3 separate regions of the Homo sapiens genome follow, and all the other regions are linked to region 1. The links are contacts of gene promoters, found by promoter capture Hi-C in human tissues and cell types (Jung and others, 2019). All regions are on one chromosome and are shown on one strand. The core of a region is centred on a gene start or on the middle of the fragment in contact, and the rest is flanking DNA. Distances in the headings are between cores, read along the strand shown. Region 1 has its middle 13 kb from the start of DSCAML1. Region 2 holds the start of BACE1 (beta-secretase 1). Region 3 holds the start of TMPRSS4 (transmembrane serine protease 4).

Region 1 (3,199 bases), core at 466-2,965:
TGCATGATTGGTCGCCAAGGAGGGAGTAGAGGTCTCTTGTGGGTTAAGGTGGGGGAATACAAGAGGAGGACGCAAAGGAGGCTTTGGATTGGGAAGAAGGGCAGCAATGAGATGCAGCTGTAATCCAGGAATAGTCAGGGAAGCAGATAATTTGGTTAAAATATCTCGGCCTAATAAGGGAACTGGGCAGGTGGAGATAACTAAAAAAGAGTGCATAAAAGAGTGTTGTCTAAGTTGGCACCAGAGTTGGGGAGTTTTAAGAGGTTTAGAAGTCTGGCTGTCAATACGCACAGCAGTTATGGAGGCAAGGGAAACAGGCCTTTGAAAAGAAGGTAATGTGGAGTGGGTAGCCTCCGTATTGATTAAGAAGGGGATGGACTTACACTCCACTGTGAGAGTTACTTAAAGCTCGGCATCCGCGATGGTCTACGGGGCTTCCAAGGCAATCAGGCAGCCTCAGTCTTCAGCTGCTAAGCCGAGAAGGAGTCAGTCAGGGAGCCTTGGGCCAGAGTTCCAGGGGCTCTGGGAGTGGCTGCCAGGTGAGTTGAACAGTCCGATTTCCAGTGGGGTCCCGCGCAGATGGGACACGGCTTAGGAGGAATCCTGGGCTGCAGGCATTCCTTGGCCTGGTGTCCAGATTTCTAGCACTTGTAGTAAGCTCCTGGGGGAGGAGGTTCTGGAGGAACGCCTGGCCGCTGCAGTTCAGGCGTTTGGAAGTTCTTGTGTGCTGGAGATGTAGCTGGGGTTTGTCTCACAGTGGAGGTAAGGAATTGCAACTTTTTTTATTATTGTACACCTTGAAGGTGAGGTTAATTAAGTCCTGTTGTGGGGTTTGAGGGCCAGATTCTAATTTTTGGAGTTTTATTTAATGTCGGGAGCAGATTGGGTAATAAAATGTATATTGAGAATAAGATGGCCTTTTGACCTTTTAGGGTCTAGGGCTGTAAAGCTTCTCAGGGTTGCTGCCGAACGAGCCATGAACTCGGCTGGGGTTTTATATTTGATGAAAAAGAGCCTAAACGCTATCTGATTTGGGATAAAGAAAAAGGAGCATTAACCTTGACTATGCCTTTAGCTCCAGCCACCTTTTTAAGAGTAAATTGCTGGGCAGGTGGGGGAGGGCTAGTCACAGAACGAAACTGTAAGTCAGACCGGGTGTGAGGAGGAGAGGCGATAAAAAGATTACAGGGTGGAGGAGCGGAGGCTGAGGAAGAAATGGGACCTAGCTTGGTCTGGCGAGGAGGGGAGAGGTCAGATGGGTCTGTAGAAAAGGAAGATTAGAAAGACTCAGCGACGCTTGGGGTTGGGACTGAGGGGACAGGCGGGAGGGAAAGAAGGAAGATTTGGGACGAGTTGCACTGGGCACAGAGACTAGGAAGGGACTGATGTGTAAAAGAATGCGTGGACGTCAGGCACCTCAGATCATTTGCCCATTTTACGACAAGAATTATTTAGCTCTTGTAGGATGGAAAAATTGAAAGAGCTGTTTTCCGGCTATTTGGAACTACTGTCGAGTTTGTATTGGGGTCAAGCGGCATTGCAGAAGAAAATAAGACACTTTGATTTTAGGTCAGGTGAGAGTTGAAGAGGTTTTAAGTTCTTAAGGATACAGGCTAAGGGAGAAGAAGGAGGAATGGAAGGTGGAAGCTTGCCCATAGTGAAGGAGGCAAGCCTAGAGAAAAGAGTAGAGATACGGAGAAGGGGGTGGGGGTTTCTTGCCCTCCAGAAAAGCAGAGAAAGGGTTGGGGCACGGAAATAAGGGATTGGGGCACAGAGATAAGAGGTCGGGGTGCGGAAATAAGGGATTGGGACACAGAGATAAGAGGTCGGGGTGCGGAAATAAGGGATTGGGGGTTCTTGCCCCCTAGAAAAGCGGGACTTGCCACTAAGGGTGAAGGAGAAGGGGTTGAGGGGTACTTGCCCCTCCCCCAGAGGGCGCTGGAGTTTTGAGTCCACGGAGTTTTGGGTCCACGGAGTTTGGGTCCACGGAGTTTTGGGTCCACGTGTCTCCTTTGTCTCTATCAGAAAATGAAAGGAATTGAAATTAAGAGAAGGGAGAGATTGAAGTGTGGCGCCAAGATTGAAATGTGAATATGTATGTATGTGAATGTGTGTATGTGTGTGCGAATGTGTAAGTGAGTGTGTGAATGTGTGTGAGTGTGAATGTGTGTGAAAATATTTGAATATGTGTGAGTGTGGGAATGTGTGTATGTGAATGTGTGTATGAGTGTGTGTGAATGTGTGAGTGTGTGAATGTGTGTATGTGAATATGCGTGTGTGTGAATGTGTGAATGTGTGTGTGAGTGTGTGGGTGTGTGTGTGTAAGAGTATGTGAATGTGTAAGTGAGTGTGAGTGTGTATGTGACTGTGTGAGTTTGTGTGTGTTGTGCGTTGCTAGTTGAGCTGGAACTGGGGAGGAGCAGAGCAACCCAGGAGGGTTGCGTGGGTGGACCTAGCATCTGGAGCGCTGCGCGGCGATTCAGCCTCCTCAGCTGAGAATCAGAGGTCTGTTTTGGAGGACACCATTGGTCCCCTCCAGTAGTTCTTAGAGGCTGGCAAGGACACAGGCTGGGGCAGGGAGTGAGCCCAGCCTCCGGCTTCACTGCGAGACATGACTGGGGTGAAGGGCAGGACCTGTGTAGTGGAGAATTTGAGTGGCCGCCGTCTATGTTGTACTGCACAGCAGCCTGCGGCGCCACCATCCTGTCCTGTGGCACTAGGGGGAGGCAGACACCAGGTTCCCAGTGCGGAGGCCTGGAGCTTCCTTCCGCGGAGGACCGCAGAGACACATCCAGTAGTGGGCCAGGGAGGCGGGTTGTCCTCTCCAGCCATCAGAGCCACGCCCAAGGAGTCAGGCACAGCGGGGAGGAGGGCTCCCCTCCCTTCCCACAGCTCCCACCCTTCCCACACTGCACTTTCCAGGAGTGCAGACGCGGCAGCTGGCCTCCCAGGACCTGCCCCACCCTGGAGGTCTGCACTGAGCCCCTTCGCCAAATGAGGCAAGACTTCTCCTGAGCCTGGGGTCTCAGGGCAAACTCCTGAGGTCGCCTCTCCTAAATCTGAGGCATTCCCAACGGATCTGGAAGATTCATTCTCTCTGGATGGATTTTTCCTCCTCTCAAGCTTCGCAGTGGAAATGATATGAAGCAGGGGCGGGGCAGTGACGGAGCTGCTAGAGCAGGGTAGACAGGCGTGGGCG
Region 2 (3,199 bases), core at 362-2,861, 490 kb after region 1:
ATGATCGGCCGGGCGCGGTGGCTCACGCCTGTAATCCCAGCACTTTGGGAGGCCGAGGCGGGAGGATCACGAGGTCAGGAGATCGAGACCATCTTGGCTAACACGGTGAAACCCCGTCTCTACTAAAAATACAAAAAATTAGCGGGGCGTGGTTGCAGGCGCCTGTAGTCCCAGCTATTCGGGAGGCTGAGGCAGGAGAATAGCCTGAACCCGGGAGGCAGAGCTTGCAGTGAGCTGAGATCCCACCACTGCACTCCAGCCTGGGCGACAAAGCGAGACGCCTTCTCAAAAAAAAAAAAAAAAAGAGTAGAGATAATGATCTTTCCTTTCCAAAGCCTGCCTTTAATGGGAGTAACGTAGCCTGTTATTACTACATTTGTTGTTGTTGTCGTTATCTTGTTTAAAAAGTTTCCTGGCTGGGTACAGTGGTCCATGCCTATAATCCCAGCATTTTGGGAGGCCGACGTGGGCGGATCACTTGAGGCCAGGAGTTCGAGACCAGCCTGGCCAACATGGTGAAATCCCATCTCTACTAAAAATACAAAAATTAGCTGGGTATGGTGGCGCATGCTTGTAATCCCAGCTACTCAGAGGCTGAGGCATGAGAACTGCTTGAACCCGGGAGGCGGAGGTTGCAGACTTGAGACCATGCCACTGCACTCCAGCCTGGGTGACAGAGCAAGTCTCCTTTTCAAAAGAAAAATGAAGATTCCCTTTCATTTTTTAAAAAAATTAAATCAGAGTAACTGCTGAATTTTATCAATGGCTTTCCACATTTGATAAACAATATATTGTTAAAACCATACCGGCTTTTCTCCTTTAAGCTATTAGAACTCTAACGCTTTTGGTTCAAGGCTTTAAGCTCTTACCAGTTAATATAGAGATACTTTTCGGAGTGTTAACACTTTAAAGCTATCAACAGCCATTTCTCCTCAGTCTGGCTGATGGTGCAGAAAATCAGAGGAGCCATAAGGATTCAAGTAGAGCCTCAAGGGCACAAACAGGTTCAGATGGGAGAAGACCCACTGGCTCTTACCTGCCCGCAGATCGCAGGCGCAGGAGAAAATAAGACAACTGCACTTTCCCCTTTTGGACCCTGCTCCGCTGGTTTGCAGCCTGGAAAAACTCTTCCTCCCCTTTCATCCTGCTCCCTCAATCTCTGCTCGTGAAAATCCTACCCATTTTTAAACGCTCAAATTAAATACCACCTTCTCCCACTGAGTCTTCCCAGATCCCCTAGATGTCCCTCCAAATCCCTACTCCTTAATGCCACATCGTATAGTGTGAAACCCCACCGCGGCAGGAATCACTTAACTGTCCCGTGTAGAATCACCGTTTATTTCTCTCTGTATCTCCAGCGCCTGGCAGTGTGCCTGGCATACAGTGGGTGCTCCTTCCATGCTGAAAGAAAGACTGACAGACGGGAGGTGTGCCCCTCTCCATCCGTCTGGCCCTTCCCGCCAGGGCCTTGCAGGGCGGACTCCACCTCGGCAGAGGGCATCCCAGACCCCTCTCCAGCCCCGGAAGCCGGATTGCCTGCCATGGGAAGACTACACTTCCCAGCGATCCCAGGGAAAAGCGAAAACCTTTTGGCTTTGACAGCCGCCGCCACAAGTCTTTCCGCCTCCCCAGCCCGCCCGGGAGCTGCGAGCCGCGAGCTGGATTATGGTGGCCTGAGCAGCCAACGCAGCCGCAGGAGCCCGGAGCCCTTGCCCCTGCCCGCGCCGCCGCCCGCCGGGGGGACCAGGGAAGCCGCCACCGGCCCGCCATGCCCGCCCCTCCCAGCCCCGCCGGGAGCCCGCGCCCGCTGCCCAGGCTGGCCGCCGCCGTGCCGATGTAGCGGGCTCCGGATCCCAGCCTCTCCCCTGCTCCCGTGCTCTGCGGATCTCCCCTGACCGCTCTCCACAGCCCGGACCCGGGGGCTGGCCCAGGGCCCTGCAGGCCCTGGCGTCCTGATGCCCCCAAGCTCCCTCTCCTGAGAAGCCACCAGCACCACCCAGACTTGGGGGCAGGCGCCAGGGACGGACGTGGGCCAGTGCGAGCCCAGAGGGCCCGAAGGCCGGGGCCCACCATGGCCCAAGCCCTGCCCTGGCTCCTGCTGTGGATGGGCGCGGGAGTGCTGCCTGCCCACGGCACCCAGCACGGCATCCGGCTGCCCCTGCGCAGCGGCCTGGGGGGCGCCCCCCTGGGGCTGCGGCTGCCCCGGGAGACCGACGAAGAGCCCGAGGAGCCCGGCCGGAGGGGCAGCTTTGTGGAGATGGTGGACAACCTGAGGGGCAAGTCGGGGCAGGGCTACTACGTGGAGATGACCGTGGGCAGCCCCCCGCAGACGGTAAGGTGGTCAGGCCAGCCCTTAGCCCTCCGCCTGCATGAGCAGAGGGGAGACAGGATGGGGATGCCTCAAGCTAGCCCCTGCTCAAATGGGCTGGTGGGGACAGCAGGAGGGACCCCTCCCCAGCCATTCCCCGGGGGTCACGTGGTTGTTGGCAGAAGTGTTCCCAAGCTCCCCATTCCCTCCTCGTCTCCCCTGGCTGCCTAGTTCCCCTTGCTCCTCATCTGACACATACGCCGTCTGGAAGGATTTGAGGCAAGACAGACACATCAGCTGGGGACCCTGACCTGGAGGAAGGGTCCGCCACAGGGGCACTATAACAGGTGTCAGCCCCCTCTGACAGTGGCCCAGTCCGAGTCTCCCAAATCCCACCACTCTAGAGGTTGGCCACCCAACCTTGTCCCCTCCTCTGATTCCCACCATTGTTCCCAGTACCTCCAGGACCAAGGAATCCTGGCAGCAGTTGAATAAGCACCTTGCTCCCACCATCTGGGCTGCCACTGGTACGGCAAAGTGAGGTTGTCGAGGCCCCCCTGACTGCACTCCGCCCGGAAGCCCTGGACAGGCTCCTGCCGTCCCCTCCTCCTCCCCTTCTCCCTCTCGCGGTCTACACTCCGGCCCCTCCCCCACCCCACACCTCCCCAGGCCAGAGGGGAACTGAACTGAGCCTGGTGAAAGAACAAATGGTAGGAAAGGAGCCAGAGCTCCCTTTTAAGAGTGGGACTCCTTCCATGGCGGGGGAGAGGGGAGTTACAGAGAAAACACTGTTATGCCCTCCCCATCCTTCCTGACAATCTCCAAGGTACCTTCAAGGTGGCTGGTGGAGGTGGCACCCTCTGCACCTCTGTGGGTGAGCAGCCCTCCATG
Region 3 (3,199 bases), core at 447-2,946, 270 kb before region 1:
GCTGGCCTCAGCCTTCTGATTCTGCAGTTAGTGACCTGCCCTAGAAATGATTCCCTTCTCTGTTGCTCCCCCAAGAGACACCCCAGGTCTCCTCAGTGCCTGCCACCCAGAAGCAGCTCACAGCTAGGTAGACTCCACAGCTGCTCTCCTCTCCTGGGAGCCCCAGGGGATACAGCGTCTCTGCACACAGGCCAAACTTTGGGGCGCCTCCTTGGATGGGAAAGCAGGAAGCTTGTGCTTTGATCCTGGCTCAAAGGGAAGCCCCTTCCCCTTTCTGATCATCAGCTACAACCGCACTAAGAATTGTTCTTGCCAGAATTTTCAGAAGAGTGTCGTGGGAAGTGCTCAGGTTGGGAATAGGAGACAATCACTCGAGGGGCCCCTGCAGGTCACACCCTTCCCCCTTGGACAGTGGCTTCTCCTTTCCTCTCTTCCCTTCCCTTTCACTTTGGTGGCTGGGCAATTGCTGCCTCTTGGCCAAGGACTGGAGAAGGAAGACCCCTGGGTTCCTCCTCAGACCCAGTTATTATCTCTTCCCCTCCCTGGCCCTCAGCTGTCCTCCTTGAAAGATAGGGTTGATTCTCTTTGCCCCAAGACAGCGAAGACGCTCCAGGTATTCAGAGGAGGAGGAGAGAGGGTGAGGGCATGAAAAGAGACCAAGTAAAAGATGACCACAAACACCCTAGATTGTTTGGAGGCATCTCTGCACTGTTTTCTTTTCCTTCTTTCTTTTTTTTTTTTTTTTTTTTTTTTTTTTTTTGAGACGGAGTTTCACTCTTGTTGCCCAGGTTGGAGTGCAATGGCACAATCTTGGCTCACCACAACCTCCGCCTCCCAAGTTCAAGCGATTCTCCTGCCTCAGCCTCCCAAGTAGCTGGGATTACAGGCACCTGCCACCACGCCTGGCTAATTTTTTGTATTTTTAGTACGGATGGGGTTTCACCATACTGGCCAGGCTGGTCTCAAACTCCTGACCTCGAGAGATCTGTCTGCCTCAGCCTCGCAAAGTGCTGGGACTACAGGCGTGAGCCACTGCACCCAGTCTACACTTTTCTTTAAAAAGAAAAGGAATCAGTTTCCCCAGGGAGTGGCAGAGGGCAACCGTGGCATCAGAACAGCCCCCTGCCTTGGAAAAATAGTGCCAACCTCTAACCAACAGACCTGGAGACATTGGGCAAAAGAACATGCAGGATTCAGGAAAGAATAGTCGGGAAGGACAGCCCTGGCTCTGTGCTCAGCTTCTTAGGTGAGCTGGTCCAAGGACCATGGCAATGGAGGAAGAGAGGAAGGCAGGTGGGTATGAGACGTGTACCGGGCTGGGGTGTGAGGGGATTTGGGTGTGGCCTCTTTTTTTAACCTAGAAGGTGTCACAGAATTCTCAGCTGATGGATGCTCAGGCTGCTTGAAGGGCCTTACATGGGGAGACCCACCCTTCCTGTGTCTTGGGAGCAGAGGGCCCCACACTCACCATGCTGGCTCTGTGATCCTCCCGGTCTCCCTGTAGCCTGGAGCTGAGATTGTCACCCCAAGGCAGCAGGAGGGCCTCCCCACACAGGTCCTGGCTGGCCAGCAGGTCAGAAGTCCCTGGTCAGCACTGGCTGGAGGAGGCCCGAGTGCAGGGCAGGCCTTGGTCCCTCACGCCCAGCATCCTTGTCCGCTGAGCAAGCTGCTGCCTCTCTCTGTGTATTCCAGGAGTGATTGGGGGACTTTGGGCAGCTTGATTAAAACAGCCCTACAAGTGAAGTTGCCAAACTGGAATGATTATGTGTCTTGTAACCTGACACCTATCTTAGGGGCTGGAACAACACCTGAAGTCATTCATGGGACCTTCGGCCTCAGAACAGGTGACACACCTAAGGCGTAACAAAAGCCTTCCCGCCTGAATGACTTCCACCCAACTGGGTGTTGGCTGAGGGTGATGCCAGAAGTTTCCGCCCCCCCTCCCCCTACCTTCTAGGTGCATGACTTCTCACTGTGTGGGTGCTTTGGTTTGGGGTTGTGGGAAGTTGGAGTGGTCTGGGGGTTGGGCGACAGGGTTTGCAGCTCAGTACAAAGAGATCATTGCCAGGTGTGGAGCAATAGGATTGGAAAGTCCACAGAGAAGGAGGGAGTTTCTTCTCTTAGGGAGGTAAGATGTACCCCCTTTCCCTGGATCCCAGAAGTGAAGCTGTCCTGCACAGAGCCAATGTACTAGTGCTTCCTGCCCCTGCCTCAGCAGCCGTTCAATATTCTGAAAATCACTATTGGTGCTCTGGCTAGAGCCCACGTCTCCTCGTCCACGGAGTCATTTCCTTCTTTCTTTCTTTCTTTTTTTCTTTTCTTTTTTTAAGACAGGGTCTCTCTCTGTCCCCCAGGCTGGAGTGCAGGGGCGCAATCTCAGCTCACTGCAACCTCCGCCTCCTAGGTTCAAGCAATTCTCGTGCTCCAGCCTCTCGAGTAGCTGGGACTACAGCCACCTGCCACCACACCCAGCTAAGTTTTGTGTTTTTGTATTTTATTTTATTTTGAGACAGAGTCTCTGTTGCCCAGGCTGGAGTGCAGTGGCGCGATCTTGGCTCACTGCAACCTCCACCTCCCAGGTTCAAGTGATTCTCCTGCCTCAGCCTCCCAAGTAGCTGCTGGGATTACAGGTGTTGTGCGCCACCATGCCTGGCTAATTTGTATTTTTAGTAGAGATGGGGTTTTGCCATGTTGGCCAGGCTGGTCTCAAACACCTGGCTTCAACTGATCCACCTGCCTCAGCCTCCCAAAGTGCTGTGATTATGGCGTGAGCCACCGCACCCAGCCCCACAGGATCATTTCTGATTCACGTTCTGCCACATCCTGATAGCTGGAGCTGCCCCCTGGCCAGGGGATGTGCAAGGTGAAACCTTACAGCCACAGATATTTTGCTGGGAGAGACTTGGATAATTGTCCACATTGTTCCCCCATTCTGTGGGCGACAAAACTAAATTCCAGAGAGGCAAAGTCAATGACCCAAAGTCACATAATGAATTAGTGTCTGGTTCCATATGAATCCAGATCTCCTTCCATTTCTCAGACCTGACCCTCCCAGGAGACCAGCCTGGGTTAGACGTGTGTATTTGTCCTTCTGTTGATAACGTGCTTCTGTGTATCAGCCCTTTAATTCTCCAACAACAACCCCAATATTTTGTTCCCATTTGTCAGCTGAGGAAACTATAGCCTATGGACATGAAGT

What was found. Contacts are between HindIII fragments. The study calls those that stand out against the background at their distance.
Region 2: a contact is called between the fragment with the promoter of BACE1 here and a fragment that was not itself captured in region 1, in 1 of the 25 tissues and cell types used here (dorsolateral prefrontal cortex).
Region 3: a contact is called between the fragment with the promoter of TMPRSS4 here and a fragment that was not itself captured in region 1, in 4 of the 25 tissues and cell types used here (dorsolateral prefrontal cortex, lymphoblastoid cells, spleen and 1 more).

What each region holds. Positions count from the first base shown.
Region 1 is chr11:117,809,007-117,812,205 of GRCh38, reverse strand. It overlaps a transcript of DSCAML1 not described here. Among named protein-coding and RNA genes, the nearest start is that of DSCAML1, 13 kb to the right of the region's middle. RefSeq lists enhancers at 2,631-2,680, 2,731-2,800. The HindIII fragment of the contact is 6,582 bases long and covers 1-3,199 here.
Region 2 is chr11:117,314,668-117,317,866 of GRCh38, reverse strand. It overlaps BACE1 (beta-secretase 1), which reads left to right and starts at 1,611. Exons shown (of 9, transcript NM_012104.6): 1 at 1,611-2,332. The coding sequence starts at 2,072. RefSeq lists silencers at 1,883-1,972, 2,063-2,172 and an enhancer at 2,701-3,199. The HindIII fragment of the contact is 10,772 bases long and covers 1-3,199 here.
Region 3 is chr11:118,075,575-118,078,773 of GRCh38, reverse strand. TMPRSS4 (transmembrane serine protease 4) reads right to left here and starts at 1,696. Exons shown (of 13, transcript NM_019894.4): 1 at 1,469-1,696. The coding sequence starts at 1,471. The region is part of intron 1 of SMIM35 (small integral membrane protein 35); the gene reads left to right. RefSeq lists an enhancer at 1,246-1,841. The HindIII fragment of the contact is 5,819 bases long and covers 1-3,199 here.